Regions from separate parts of the Homo sapiens genome. Here region 1 is linked to region 2. Evidence: promoter capture Hi-C in 16 types of primary human blood cells and fetal thymus (Javierre and others, 2016). All regions are on one chromosome and are shown on one strand. The core of a region is centred on a gene start or on the middle of the fragment in contact, and the rest is flanking DNA. Distances in the headings are between cores, read along the strand shown.

Region 1 (6,270 bases), core at 1-2,500, 100 kb after region 2:
ATATGATTTGGGGGGAAGGAGTGATGCGAGACCTACCTATAAACAAGGGAGACCTGTCAGGGCAGAGATGTCAGGGGTCTTTGGGTCAAAACATTGTGTATTTCCTTCTTCCCAGGTAATTTATGCTGCTGTACTGGACAGAGACCCATTGTGGATAGTGGGAAAAGTTTCAGTCTTGTGAGTATGAAACAACTGATAGCTGCAGAGCCAACAGTTCTGGATTAAGTCACAAATCATCATGTGCATTATGCAGGATTGGTTTTCAAGGAAAGCACAATATTGTGTCTTAGAGAAAAATGGTTCACATTTTACCCAACTCAGTGATGGTAACTAGGTATTTTTCTCAGAAACACAGACAGGTGGCACCTCAATGGCTTTTTGAAACTGAAGTTTATAAAATAGCATATTTCAAGTGAAAACGAATTAGGCCATCTTCCTTACATCTTGTTTTGTTGATAGGAAAACAGTCTATTTCTCATGCTGCCATTTCAGCAGCACTTTTTGTTGAGTCACCACCAAAGTTAAACATTTTTGTGAAATAAATCCCTATGTCCTCTTGGAATGTGCTTCCATCTTTGATTAGTACTCATGGTAGATGGGGAAGAGAGAAGGAACATTTTCATCTTTTATGCTGCGTGGAATCAGTAGCCATTCAGCAATGTGTAGCAATCATAGAGCATTAGATTCAGACCTTCCTCTGCCCACTTCCTCCACATCCCACGCTCTGAAAAACACATAATTTCTCCACACTCTCACACAAACACTTCTGACACCAGATGTGTGTGGTTTTTTTCCACACCAACAAATTCTCCAATCTCCAGACACCAGCTGGTATCCTACAGTTTAATCCAATTCTGACCCTATCTACCAGGAGTTAGTGGCAGCTCCCACAAATTAAGGGCTCAGTCTCACAAGATCCCCTACATCACATGCCAATCGCAAGTCTGGGCCTCCTATATTTCTAACCTACCAGCTATAAATTGGAGGTTCCCACGAACTCCTCCTTGGGTTTGGTAATTTGCTAGAATGGCTCACAGAACTCAGGTAAACACTTTACTTAACATTTACTGGTTTATTATAAAGATATTGTCAAGGACACAGAAGAATGCACTATGAAAGGTACATAAAGCAAGGTCCAGAAGGGTCCTGGGTGTAGGAGCTCCTGTCTCGGTGGAGTTGAGGTGCACCAGCCTCCTGTCATGTGGATGCATTCACCAACCCAGAAGGTCATAAATCTCCTTGTTCAAGGGTTTGTATAGAGCTTTATCTCCATCCCCGCTGTTCCCTCAGAGACAGGTGGGTGGAAGACCCTCCAATCACTTGGTCTCTCTGCTCACCAGAGTCATCCTGAGGCCATCCACGTAGGGGCCCTATCCTAAGATGTCTCATTAGCATAAACTCAGATGTGACCCAGAGGCTTGTCATGAATAACAAAAGACACCCCTATAACTCAGAAAATTCCAAGTGTTTTGAAAGCTCTGTGCCAACAACCAACTGGGGACAAAGACCAAATTTTTTTTATTATACTTAACTGAAAAAAAAAACAACCCTATAGGAAGTAGCTAAGAAAGACTATATGGAATCATTAATTTTAAAAATACAAACTTTTTATTGAAAAGATACATTACAAACTGCAGAGATTATATACCCAGAGATGTTTAGATTCCTATATTGTTAAAAGAATGTGGAAAAGTGAGAAAGAGAATAACAAAGGGGACATGCAAATAATACAACTATGGGCTCCATAAGACGTTTTGGCCAATGAAAGGCAGCATATATGATGGTGGTCCCATAAGATTATAATACTGTATTTTTACTGTGCCTTTTCTATGTTTAAACACACAAATACTTACCATCACATTACAATTGCCTACAGTATTCAGGATACTACCATGCTGTACAGGTTTGCAGCCTAGGAACAATAGGCTGTACCATCCAGCCTCGCTGTGTAGTAGGCTCTACCATGGAAGTTTGCATAAGTACATTCTATGACCCCACAATGACAAAATCACCTAACACATTTCTCTGAACATATCCCTATCCTGAAGCAACACATGACTGTATGTCTAAAAGAAAGGTTAAAGAATAGAGACTAGAGAGCCATGTAAACAAAATTGACATGAATAATTGATGTCAAATAATTATTATTCTGCATAGCAGTTATAAATATTATGACAACTAACTACCTGAGCTGGAGAAGTAAGACAAATTACAATGAGATCTATTTGTTTATTTGATCATTTTTCAATTCAATTCAATTCATTCATTCATAATTTGAAATTATTTGGTACCTTCCATCATCACCTATACAGTCAGCCCTTCTTATCTGTGGGTTCCACATCCTTGGATTCAACCAGCCACAGATCAAACATATGTAAGAAAAAAATAACAATAACCATACAAGGCCAGGTGCAGTGGCTCACGCCTGTAATTCTAGCTTTTTGGGAGGTCTTGGCAAGTGGTTCACTTGAGCTCAGGAGTTTGAGAGTAGCCTGGGCAACATGGTGAAACCCCATCTCTACAAAAAAATAGCCAGGCATGGTGGCATGCACCTGTAGTCCCAGTTACTTGTGAGGCTGAGGTGGGAGGATCGCTTCAGCCAGAGAGACGGAGGTTGCAGTAGGCTGTGATCATGCCACTGCACTCCAGCCTGGGCAACAGAGTAAGATTCTGTCAAAAAAAAAAACTGTAAAATAATACAGTATAACAACTGTTTACATAACATTTCCATTGTATTAGGTAGTAAAAGGAATCTAGAGATTATTTAAAGTATTCAGGAGGATGTGTGTAGGTTACATGAAAATACTATTCCATTTTATATAGGACACTTGAGCATCTGCAGATTTTGGTATCTGTGAGTGGTCCTGGAACCAATCCCCCACAGATACTGAGGGATGATTGTATTTCATTTCCAGTTTCCCTGTGGCTTTAAAGATTATTTGAATCTATTTTATTGGCTAGATCACTGGGTCAGATAAGCATGGAGAAAAGACCAATGCTAGATTCCCAGACTGAAATAAATGGAGGGGCCATAGCTTCTCCACTGAAGAATTCTTCAGTGGAGCCAAATCCCTGTGACTTGGTGGCAACTCAGTGGATATCGTTCTAACTTAGGAGGCGCCAGGGGCACCAGGGTTTTCAGTCCTCCCTGGGGTAACCTGCTCCCTGCTCCTCCCTAGTCTCTGAACCATAGCACACCACCACTGCTGCCACCACCACCACCATAATCATCATCATCATCATCACCTCTAGTGGTATTTTACAACTCCAGGATTCTCTGATTTTTCCATTCTTGTTTTCTTCTATAGAGTTCATTTTGCTGCCAAATGAATGGGGAAGGTAAATGTTGCTTGGATCAAGAGAAAAGCAGGCCCTAAGAACAAAGCAAGTATAAGTCTTTCTTTTTCTGCCCTCTTTTACCTGTTTTATGACCATGAACTCCATTATCAGAATGCATAGCCTCAAATTCTGATTCCACTATCATGGAAACCTTTTTTAAACCTTTGTTTCTCTATCTGTAAAATGGGATTATGACTATAAAGTGTAAATTATATCATGTCTGTAAAACACAAAATATCATGCTGACCACATACTGTCTGGCCTCTGCGCAGCCCTTTGATCTATTTCGATGAACCCCTGACTATTGGGGCTTGGGGTGTTGGTGCAAGAGGCTTTTGGAGTTCTAAGAACAATTATCTTTCTCTCAGTCCTTCTATTCCTTTCCTTCCGTTTTCCCCCAATCGCTGCAAACCCAAGTCTATCTGGGAGAAAAGGACCCCACATACAGGGCCTGCAAGATATAGTAATTATTCAAACATGGCACCAGCATGGTGACACCAGCCTTGGCAAGATGGAACCTAGCTTGAATCCTAGCTCTGTAACTTTCCAGCTCCAGTTTAATTTCCTCCTTGGTATAACTGGGATAATATTTCAAGGAAATTGTTGGGAAGGCTAAATCATAGACATAAATGAGGTGCTGAAAGTTCCAAGTACAGTGACTGCACATAATAATTGCTTATTGAATGCCAGTTTTTCCTGGTAACTGATGTTCAGAATTGTCCTTAGAGCCAACTTTGGCAAGAGATGGCTCACAAAAGCTGTAGAAATTAGAAAATGTCCAAGAAATTTAAAATTTCTGTGTATACATTCTTTGACCCAGCAATTTCACCACCAGGAATCTACTCTAGGGGAGTAATTGAAGGTAAGTCAAATATTTATTATATACATAGATATTTGTCACAATGTTACTTATAATTACAAAAAAATTAGAGATAAACTAAATGTCCAACAATAGGGGATTGCTTAAGTATTTCATGGCATAACCATGTGATTGGAATTTATACTATCTTGGAAAATCTCTTTTGTGCAATATTTAAAGAATTTGAAAATAAAAATGGTTTGAAGTGAAAAAATTTAAAAATTGAGCACTCTGATACCAGATTTATAGAAAAAATGTATAAGCATAGTATAATCTCATATATACAGAGCAATTATAAAGAGTGGACGGAAATACACATAACATTGATAGTGGTTATCTCTACTTCATATGAAGTAATTTTATTCCCTTCTGTAGATTTTTCAGCAATTCTACATGATGTTTTTACATGAACATGCATTAATTTTATAATCATATGCAAAAAAAGTTTAAACAAAAAGAAATTCCTATGGATGGTACAGTAATTACAGCAGAAATACAATTCCCTCTAGAATCCAAATTTGCTTGATTCCTAGTTATATTTGAAAGGGTAGGGGGGACTTTAAAGACTGGTATAGACTGTTTACCCAGTGGACATCAAATATCACGGCCTGGAGTTACAGGAGGGTCAGGCCTCCCCCCAGCATTTGCAAGCGCAAAGCAAGAATATAAGGAGAAGACATCTCATTCTCTTCTCTTCCCACCCCAGTTCTGTTCCACATTGCTGGCATCACAGATTGAACACCCAACTCACCTGTCCAAGCTCCATCCATTCCCCAAACAGCTGCCCCTTGGCCACAGCTCAGGCCTAGGGGTGAGCTTCTAGATGGGTATCTGTCCTCTCTGGGAGGAGAGACTGCAGCAGAGGCCCACGTGGGCTGTGGAAGTAGATTTCGGGCCTTTTGGGAAGGAAATTCTGAGGCCATGAGTGCCAACAGCCTGTGGCTCAGCGATGGGGTACAGGCTGTTGGTGGAATGTCCCTTAACCCTGGGGTCTCCTTGCTCCTTGGAGATGGGCATGGTGACAGGGGGCCCAGCAACCTAGGGCCAAAGGGCAATACTGGGAATGGGCTCCTGGAAGCAACATTTGATGCCTCTGACACCAATAGAAATGTAAATAAGAACAAACTCCAGGATGGGGGCCTCATCTCTCAGAGGCATAAAAAATGACATTACAAAAAAACCTAGTATGGTACTTAATTTAAACATTACTCATTCTTCAGCTATTATTTTCCCTACTTCACCTCCCTGCAACGCATCAACTAATCATGCTGAAGTCCCAATAGAACTGGTAAACTGTACCAGCTGACAGTCAGAGCTGGCTTGGGAGGTTCTCGGCAGATCTGTTAGAAGCCATTTCTTACTTTAAGCTGAGATCTGCTGTCCTGCCACTTCCACATATGGGCTAACCCTGGGTAGACCTGTCCCTCATCTATGAGACAGCCCTTCCCATAGATGCAGCTGCTTTCATTCCCACTCGCTCTCTGCATTCATCCTCCCTGTTTCCTTTGTAGCTAAATTATCTGCATGCACTTTCTTCACCTAATGACTCATCCATTCCTGAGACTCCAGGTGACATCTCCATATGTTTTCTGAATCCATTTCTACTTCTGCTCTCTTTTCTGACCCTTCCCTTACATACCTGGTTCTGAGTTCATCGTAACCCTCACCTTACTCCACTAAACAACTCTCTCCTGACTTCCATATTAATGCTATTGGTACCCTTTTGCTTTTTCTCCCCTAGAGCCAAGGCTTGATGCTGGGCTCATGTAGCGGTCTGCAGGCTCATCTGTCCCTTGTCCTCTGCACTTGCACTCCCTGAGTCCAGACCATCTTCAATTACACTGCAATTATTACAACAGATTCTCTATACGGTCACCTTCCTTCCAACACCTCCCATGCAACCTAACTCATAGCAGGGTCTCAAATTTCCCAGAATTGCTTAGGAAGCTTCTTCAAGATGTTTTTGCCTGAGATTCCCCTCCATTTTACTGGATTAGAACCACCTGTAGTATGGCCCAGGACAAGCTCTGAACTTTTACAAACCTCCCCAGGTCATGGATGCGACCAGTCAG
Region 2 (6,557 bases), core at 3,736-6,235:
TTTTTGTTTTTATTTGTAAATCTAGTTTTATTGCATTTTGGTCAGAAATTATTTATTGTAATATTTCTGCTTTATGGAAATTGCCAGTATTTTCTTTGTGACCTACTATAGGATCAGCATTTATAACTGTGCTGTGATTGCTTAGATGTATATTCTCCATAATCAAGGTCTAAAGTTTGATATATATCCATGAGATTTACTGTATTTATTATGTTGCTTAGATCTTCTGTTTCTTATTTTTTGTAAATAAGTGATCTGTTTTGTACTAAGGTTATACTAAGAGTTGTATATTAAAATCTACTGTGTCCTGTGTTTCCATGTATCTCCTGTAGTTTTTGCTTCAGAAGGGTGGTTGCTCTGCTTTTTGCTATGTAAATATCATGATTATTACTTATTCATTTTGGATTATGGCCTTTATTATATTAAAAATGTCCTCATTTGTCATGTTCAGTGCTCTGGACTAAAGACTTAAAGTCTTTAAGATATAAAGACTTTAAAAACATATTTATGAGACCTTCCTGATAACTCCTACCACTCCTATCTTCAATACCTATGATGATCATTCCATAATAGCAAGCAGCTTTAATTAGGATGTACTTTCATGGGAGCTACTAGAAGCTGTGATATACCTAGTGTATACCATTTCCAATCCAAAAAGAAGGAAGAAAAAAAAGTGGCAACTGGATGGTCATCACTCGGAATTTATACTGAATGTTGTGGCTTTTGCTTTTAAAAATTTTACCAACTAAGCTGTATAGCAAATCATCTGCATGCACTGTACATTTAAACTAAAATAGAACCTTATTTCCTTACAGCATTTTGCTGTGTTTTATTTAGAATAGGTACTTCTTTTGAAAGGATTAATTAAACTCTATCTAATTACCCAAGGCAGTGGTATCACACTGGCTCTGAAGAGGAGTACGAAGGAGTGAAAGAGACCTTTCCACCTAATCTTGTATACCTTTTTAAATTTGGGACCATGTCTATGTATTTCATCTAAAAACCACATTTACACACATGCATGTAAAATATAACTAAACTCCATAACTTGAAACATGATGTATTAGGTGCAGGAATCTACCCTCTTACTGAAAAAATAAAATTATTGGGTAAAATACTAAAAAACATACCTTGAATGCATTTCTTAACTAATGACTATTAGCCAACCAACATTTCTTTTAGTAGGAAAGTAAGAAAAGCTCAGATCAAAGATCAAATGATAGCAGGAACTCAGAGGGGAACTGACCTTATCCTGAAGATATTTGTCTAACTAGGTGAACCTAAACATTGCATTCACAACCCTATGGGGCTAGGGACAGAAGACAAATCCTAGGGTTTATCCAAAATAAATAGTCTAATAGATCTTCTTCCATAAAGTTGATCTACTTTCTCAGTAAAAGAGCAAACTAAAAATAACCTCCCCACTAGCTTGCTCAGCCCCAGGAAATAACTTGGGTGCTGAATTAAGGAGGAAAAAAATCTTTCCTTAGAATTCATAACCAAAATACAGCCTTTATTGCAGATTATAGCTGGAATTCACAATATTTCGAAGGCAAAAAAAAAGTTAAGCTGAGGATTTAGTATAATTAGTGCATGAACTATAGTGCTCTGTTGTCTATTAGAAGCAAATATTTTGTAGGGAGTTGTCCATCTCACACCTCAACATGTTTTGCACAGCCAAAGTTCCAAGGAAAATGAAGGGCTACCTCATAGTAAAGAAAAACATTACATACACAGGGGAACAAGGTATCAGCAGAAACAGCAATCAGACACAGAATATAAAATGTTTAATGTTTCAATAAAGGAGAGGCTTGAAAATGAATGAAGATGTTGAGTGGAAAAAGTCACAGAAAAACACCTACAGTACGATTCCATTTATATAAAGATATCTATCAAACAGATAAAACCAAACAATATACTTTGTGGGAGAGCAATACACAAACGCTTAAAACAAAACTGTAAAGAAAGGAGTGATAATAGAATTCAGGATAGTGGTCCCTTTTTGGGGGAGGAGAGGGTTGTGATCAGAAAGGGGCATATTGGAGGTGTGGTAATATTTTGTTTCTTAACCTGGGTGTAGGAACATGAGCATTTACTTTGTTTTTAAATGGTATATTTTCACATGTTCTTGAACATATGCTAAATTTCTAACAAAAAGGAACTATGTAATAAACATGTAATATATAAAATCTATGTTGATTAATTTTTCTTAAATATTTGAAATGAATTATTTGAAGTACTCTGATAGTGAGAACTATAAGATTTAAGAAAAATTAGAGTATTTCAAGTATTTAACAAAGCTTATGGTTTAAGGAAACTTCTTTTCTACTGATATGATGAAACAATTTTCTTCTCCATGCTTCACAGCAAAAGCATTAATTTTGGGTTGTTATTAATCTTCCTTTTTTTCTACTTTGCAGCAAGATGAGAAGATGAAGTGAATTTATGGATTCTGGTTTTTCTGAATTTTCAAAGCATAAGGAATCAAAACAGAAATATAGTATCAAGAAGATGAAATGCTTAATGAAAAGGTTTTTTTTTTGTTTCTTTGGCCTTTCATGGAGTGTTGATTTGTCCATTCTTAATGTTTATTAATAGGTATATGTGCATAAAATAGCTATTTTGTAACATTAAACTTTTTGAGTCATTTTGGTCATCATATAACTTACCTTCCTGTTTATTTAAGCTTCTTTTTACCTAGTAGCCTTTAACCAAACAATAACCTTTTAACCAAATAAAATGTGTTAATAAATACCTTTGCATTGGTTATCTTGTATACTAGGCTGTCTTGTTTTGCTGTCTGTTTTTAACCCATTCAATATATGTGGACATCCAAAAGGGTTTAAAAGCCACCTCCTGCCCTGGCCCGTTTTCTCTCCCTTCATTCTTCTGTTTTCAGAAATACATGTTGAATGTCAGCTTCTGTATTATTTCTATTATATGTAATCTGATGACTTAGAGGAGGAGATTAACCTTTCAGGCTCTTTTGAATTTGGTTTTTATAATTTGGTTTTAAAGATCACTTACTCTTCCAGTAATAAGTAGTAATAAATCCTGTTCATATCTGAGATCAATACACAGTTTATTGAATTCAAATGACTACTCAAACTCTATTCCACCTAGATGGAAAACTTTTTTAGACAATATCTGACCACTAACGCGGTGGGCCCAGAAATCTGCATCTTAATCAGATGCTTCAGGTGAGTCCGTCCGAGGATTGTCCTAGTACCACACTTTGAGAGACTGCAGTGGGGGTACAGAGTGCTGGAGGGGTTTAGTCAATAGCTCTAGTGAAGGATGGATAGTTTTATTCAAAGAATCCCAGTTGATGAATGAAGAAGAAATGCTAGAATTAGAAAAATTGCAAACCCCTATTAAAACTACCGCTCAGGCAATGCTCAACAATGGATGTAAAACAATTAGGTGAAATGTTGATGGAGAAATTCATTACAAAGGAATAGCCCTCTGAACCCACTGATCAATGTTAGCATCATTACGAATGAAACAACCAGACACCATATGCTTCCTGCTGTGCTGCAATATTAATTATATGGTACCACCTATGAAGTGTTCTTGCCCTCTCCCCCCCAAAAAATTGAACCTGAATTTAATCAAAGCTTTAGATCTAATATTTAGTGCATAGGAAATAAGTAGAGTAGAAAAACAATACCAGGGAGAAGCAATTAGCCACATTCAAAAAATGGTTCATTTCAATAGAACAACTGACCTGGTTTCTTTTTCAATGTGTTAATAGTGTTAAAAAGTCTGTTTTAGATCAAAAGAGACTGATGAGACCACATGCAAATACATTGCACAGCTCTTGTTTGATTCAAAGAAGTCAAGTGTAAAAGACATTTTTTAGACACGTGAAATGGTGTTGCGGCTGACTAAAAGGATGTGTATGTGTGTTTTTGAAGTATTTAGGGCTAAAATATGTCCAGGATTGGCTTTTAAATACTACAAAAAATGGAGTATGCCAAAACGTTGACCATTGTTAAAGCTCAGTGAAGGGCAGGTAGATGCCAATTGCACTCTTCACTTTTATGTGCAAAGTTTGGAAAATTTCACAATAAAATTTTTGTGTTTACATAAATGAAATAACATGGGAAAATGTTCTAAGGTATGGCAAGTGAAAAAAGCCTGGAAAATAACTAGTTTGTCCCACTTAAGTTTTTAAAGGTGTTAAAAGTACATGTTTCAAAAAGTAAGGATAGACTAAAAAAGTGAACGGTGGTAAGTTCTAAGTTGTGGGCTTACAGGTGTTCTTTATTTTTATGCTTTGCTGTATTTTCCAAGTTTTTTTTTTTAAGTTTTCCAAGATGTTTTACATCTCTGTTCTTATTTACCAGATAAACTTTGTGGTTAGTTACTGGATAAACTGTAAATAGTGATAAAATTTTTAAGTTTATATCAAGATAGCACTTCATTTTAAAACCAGTAATTATTAGGTTGGTGCAAAATTAATTGCAGTTGTTGCCATTGGAAGTGATGGTAAAAACCGCAATTACTTTTGCACCAACCTTATATTTCTAAAAGATCAAGTTGTAAACCTATTTGTTTTCCCTAAGATCCGCTCTTGCAGAGTTGGAATAAATATGATTGTTTACACTTAAGAGTCCAGGACTACAGCAGGCCTGGTTGGAGGGGAGTTACTAATGTTCCCAGACTTAAATCCAGCTGGAACACCACCTAAAATATGCAGTAACATAAGACCATCAAAAGCAATGTCCCAGGACTTACAATGTTTGCTAAGACGCAAGAGGGTGTGACACAGACGCTAAGCGCCACTGGCGAGGAGATGAAGGGGTCGTCTTCATCTTCGCCGGATGATTTCCGCCCACATAGAGGGCGCCAGTGACGCCCACACACGTGCTGGTGTCCCGGGAAGAGTTCCTGGCAAAGAGCTCAGGAACGTTGGATCTTAATCAAGGCTTTCTCCGTCGGGGTGGATGGGTTGGACTTTAGGCTCCAGCAAGCCCCGCCCCACTCGGCGGGTCGGTGCCGCCGGGTCCCAGGTGCCCGCTACTTCCCAGAACCTCCGCCTCCCGCTCCGGGCCCTCGAACCAGCGCGGACACCACAATGGACCGGGCGTCCGAGCTGCTCTTCTACGTGAACGGCCGCAAGGTGAGCGCCCGCGGGCTTCCTCTGCCCCCAGACCTGCGGCCAGGGCCGGGGCAGAGAGGAGCCCCTGCCGTTCGTCCCATCCTTTCGTGCCCGCCGTTTAAGGCACTCAGGCACGGACTGGCTTTCTCCCGTAACAGCGGCTTTGCCTTCGCATTCCCACCCCTGCCTCCGGGGCAGCTAAAGGCTGCGTTTTCAGGGACTGTCCTGGATCTTTGGGCCCCCACCTTCCTTATGTTCCCCTTTCCTCTCCTTCCAAGGCTCACAAGCTGATTTCCAACCACACGCCCTCCCTAAACAGTAAGATAAAAAGTATTCTTGCCCATCAGGGGTCAGCACTCCCAGATCTTCGTTCCCTCAATCCCAGCCGATAACGGGAACGTCCCCAGTACACTGAGAGCAGCCTACAGAAATGGCTGAGCCTCAGCTCGCGGGGTGCGTTTGGAAGCGCAGAGAGCAACTTAGATTCGGGACAAGACCGTAGAGACGAACACATTCAAACCACCCCCATCGTTTCTCAGATGAAGAAATCGTTACTTTCCAAAGTCACAGCTAGTTCCTGGCAGAGCTGAACCCAAGTCAGGCTCTGGGGGCTCCAAGGTCCTCACGGGTTCCACTGCTGGGTGCGGGCTCTGTCGCCTCAGAAGCTGGGCTCGCTCTGCGCAACCCGAGGGACAGTTCCAGGCAGTGTCCGATGTTTGGGAGAAGCAAAGCCCCCTGGGCATCCTTTAAAACACCCCCCTTAATGTGAGCATCAACTCTGCTCACTCTTAATGTTCCAGTTTCATTGACATTACTCTGAAGGAGGAAACTGAGGCAGGAAGGTTAAGGAGCTCCCTTGAGAGCTGTGGCTCACGCCTGTAATCTGCACTTTGGGAGACCGAGGCAGGAGGATTGCTTGAGCCCAGGAGTTCGAGTTTAGCCTGGGCAACATGGCGAAACCTTGTCTCTACAAAAAAAAAACCAAACAAAACAAAACAACAACAACAAAAAAAAACCGGTGTGGTGGTGCGTGCCTGCAGCCCAGCTACTGGGGAGGGTGAAGGAGGATTGCTTGAGTCTAGGAGTTCAAGGTTACAGTGAGCTGTGATCACACCACTGCACTCCAGCTTGGACAAAAGAGTGAGATCCTATTTCTTAAAAACAACAAAAACAGAGCTAACAACCAAGCAAGAGCAGTGGCACCTGATTTCCCTGGTGCTCGTGTTGGTGCCGGTTCATTCAGAGCCACCTGTGACCACTGCTTCTGGCTAAGGGCAGCCACAACACTTTTCCCGACGGGCACCAGCTGCCTCCCCTGGAAGCTAACCAGTGTGAAGCACCAGGCCCTAGTTGTGAGGCCTGTTCTAAGACCCTGAGCCTAATTTCATTTGTGGTTTTGTATTATGTTTCTTAAAGAGGATCCCCCAAATTGTACATTAGGCCCCTCAAAAAC

Evidence for each region. Contacts are between HindIII fragments. The CHiCAGO score rates a contact against its expected background, and 5 or more counts as called.
Region 1: a fragment that was not itself captured here is called in contact with the fragment with the promoter of AOX1 in region 2 in 2 of 17 cell types (M2 macrophages and endothelial precursors); the score reaches 5.5 in M2 macrophages.

What each region holds. Positions count from the first base shown.
Region 1 is chr2:200,688,564-200,694,833 of GRCh38, forward strand. No RefSeq gene overlaps it. Among named protein-coding and RNA genes, the nearest start is that of LINC01792, 43 kb to the right of the region's middle. The HindIII fragment of the contact is 9,786 bases long and covers 1-6,143 here.
Region 2 is chr2:200,581,029-200,587,585 of GRCh38, forward strand. AOX1 (aldehyde oxidase 1) reads left to right here and starts at 4,986. Exons shown (of 35, transcript NM_001159.4): 1 at 4,986-5,125. The coding sequence starts at 5,081. It overlaps SGO2 (shugoshin 2), which reads left to right. Exons shown (of 9, transcript NM_152524.6): 9 at 2,421-3,068. The coding sequence ends at 2,436. The HindIII fragment of the contact is 4,080 bases long and covers 3,616-6,557 here.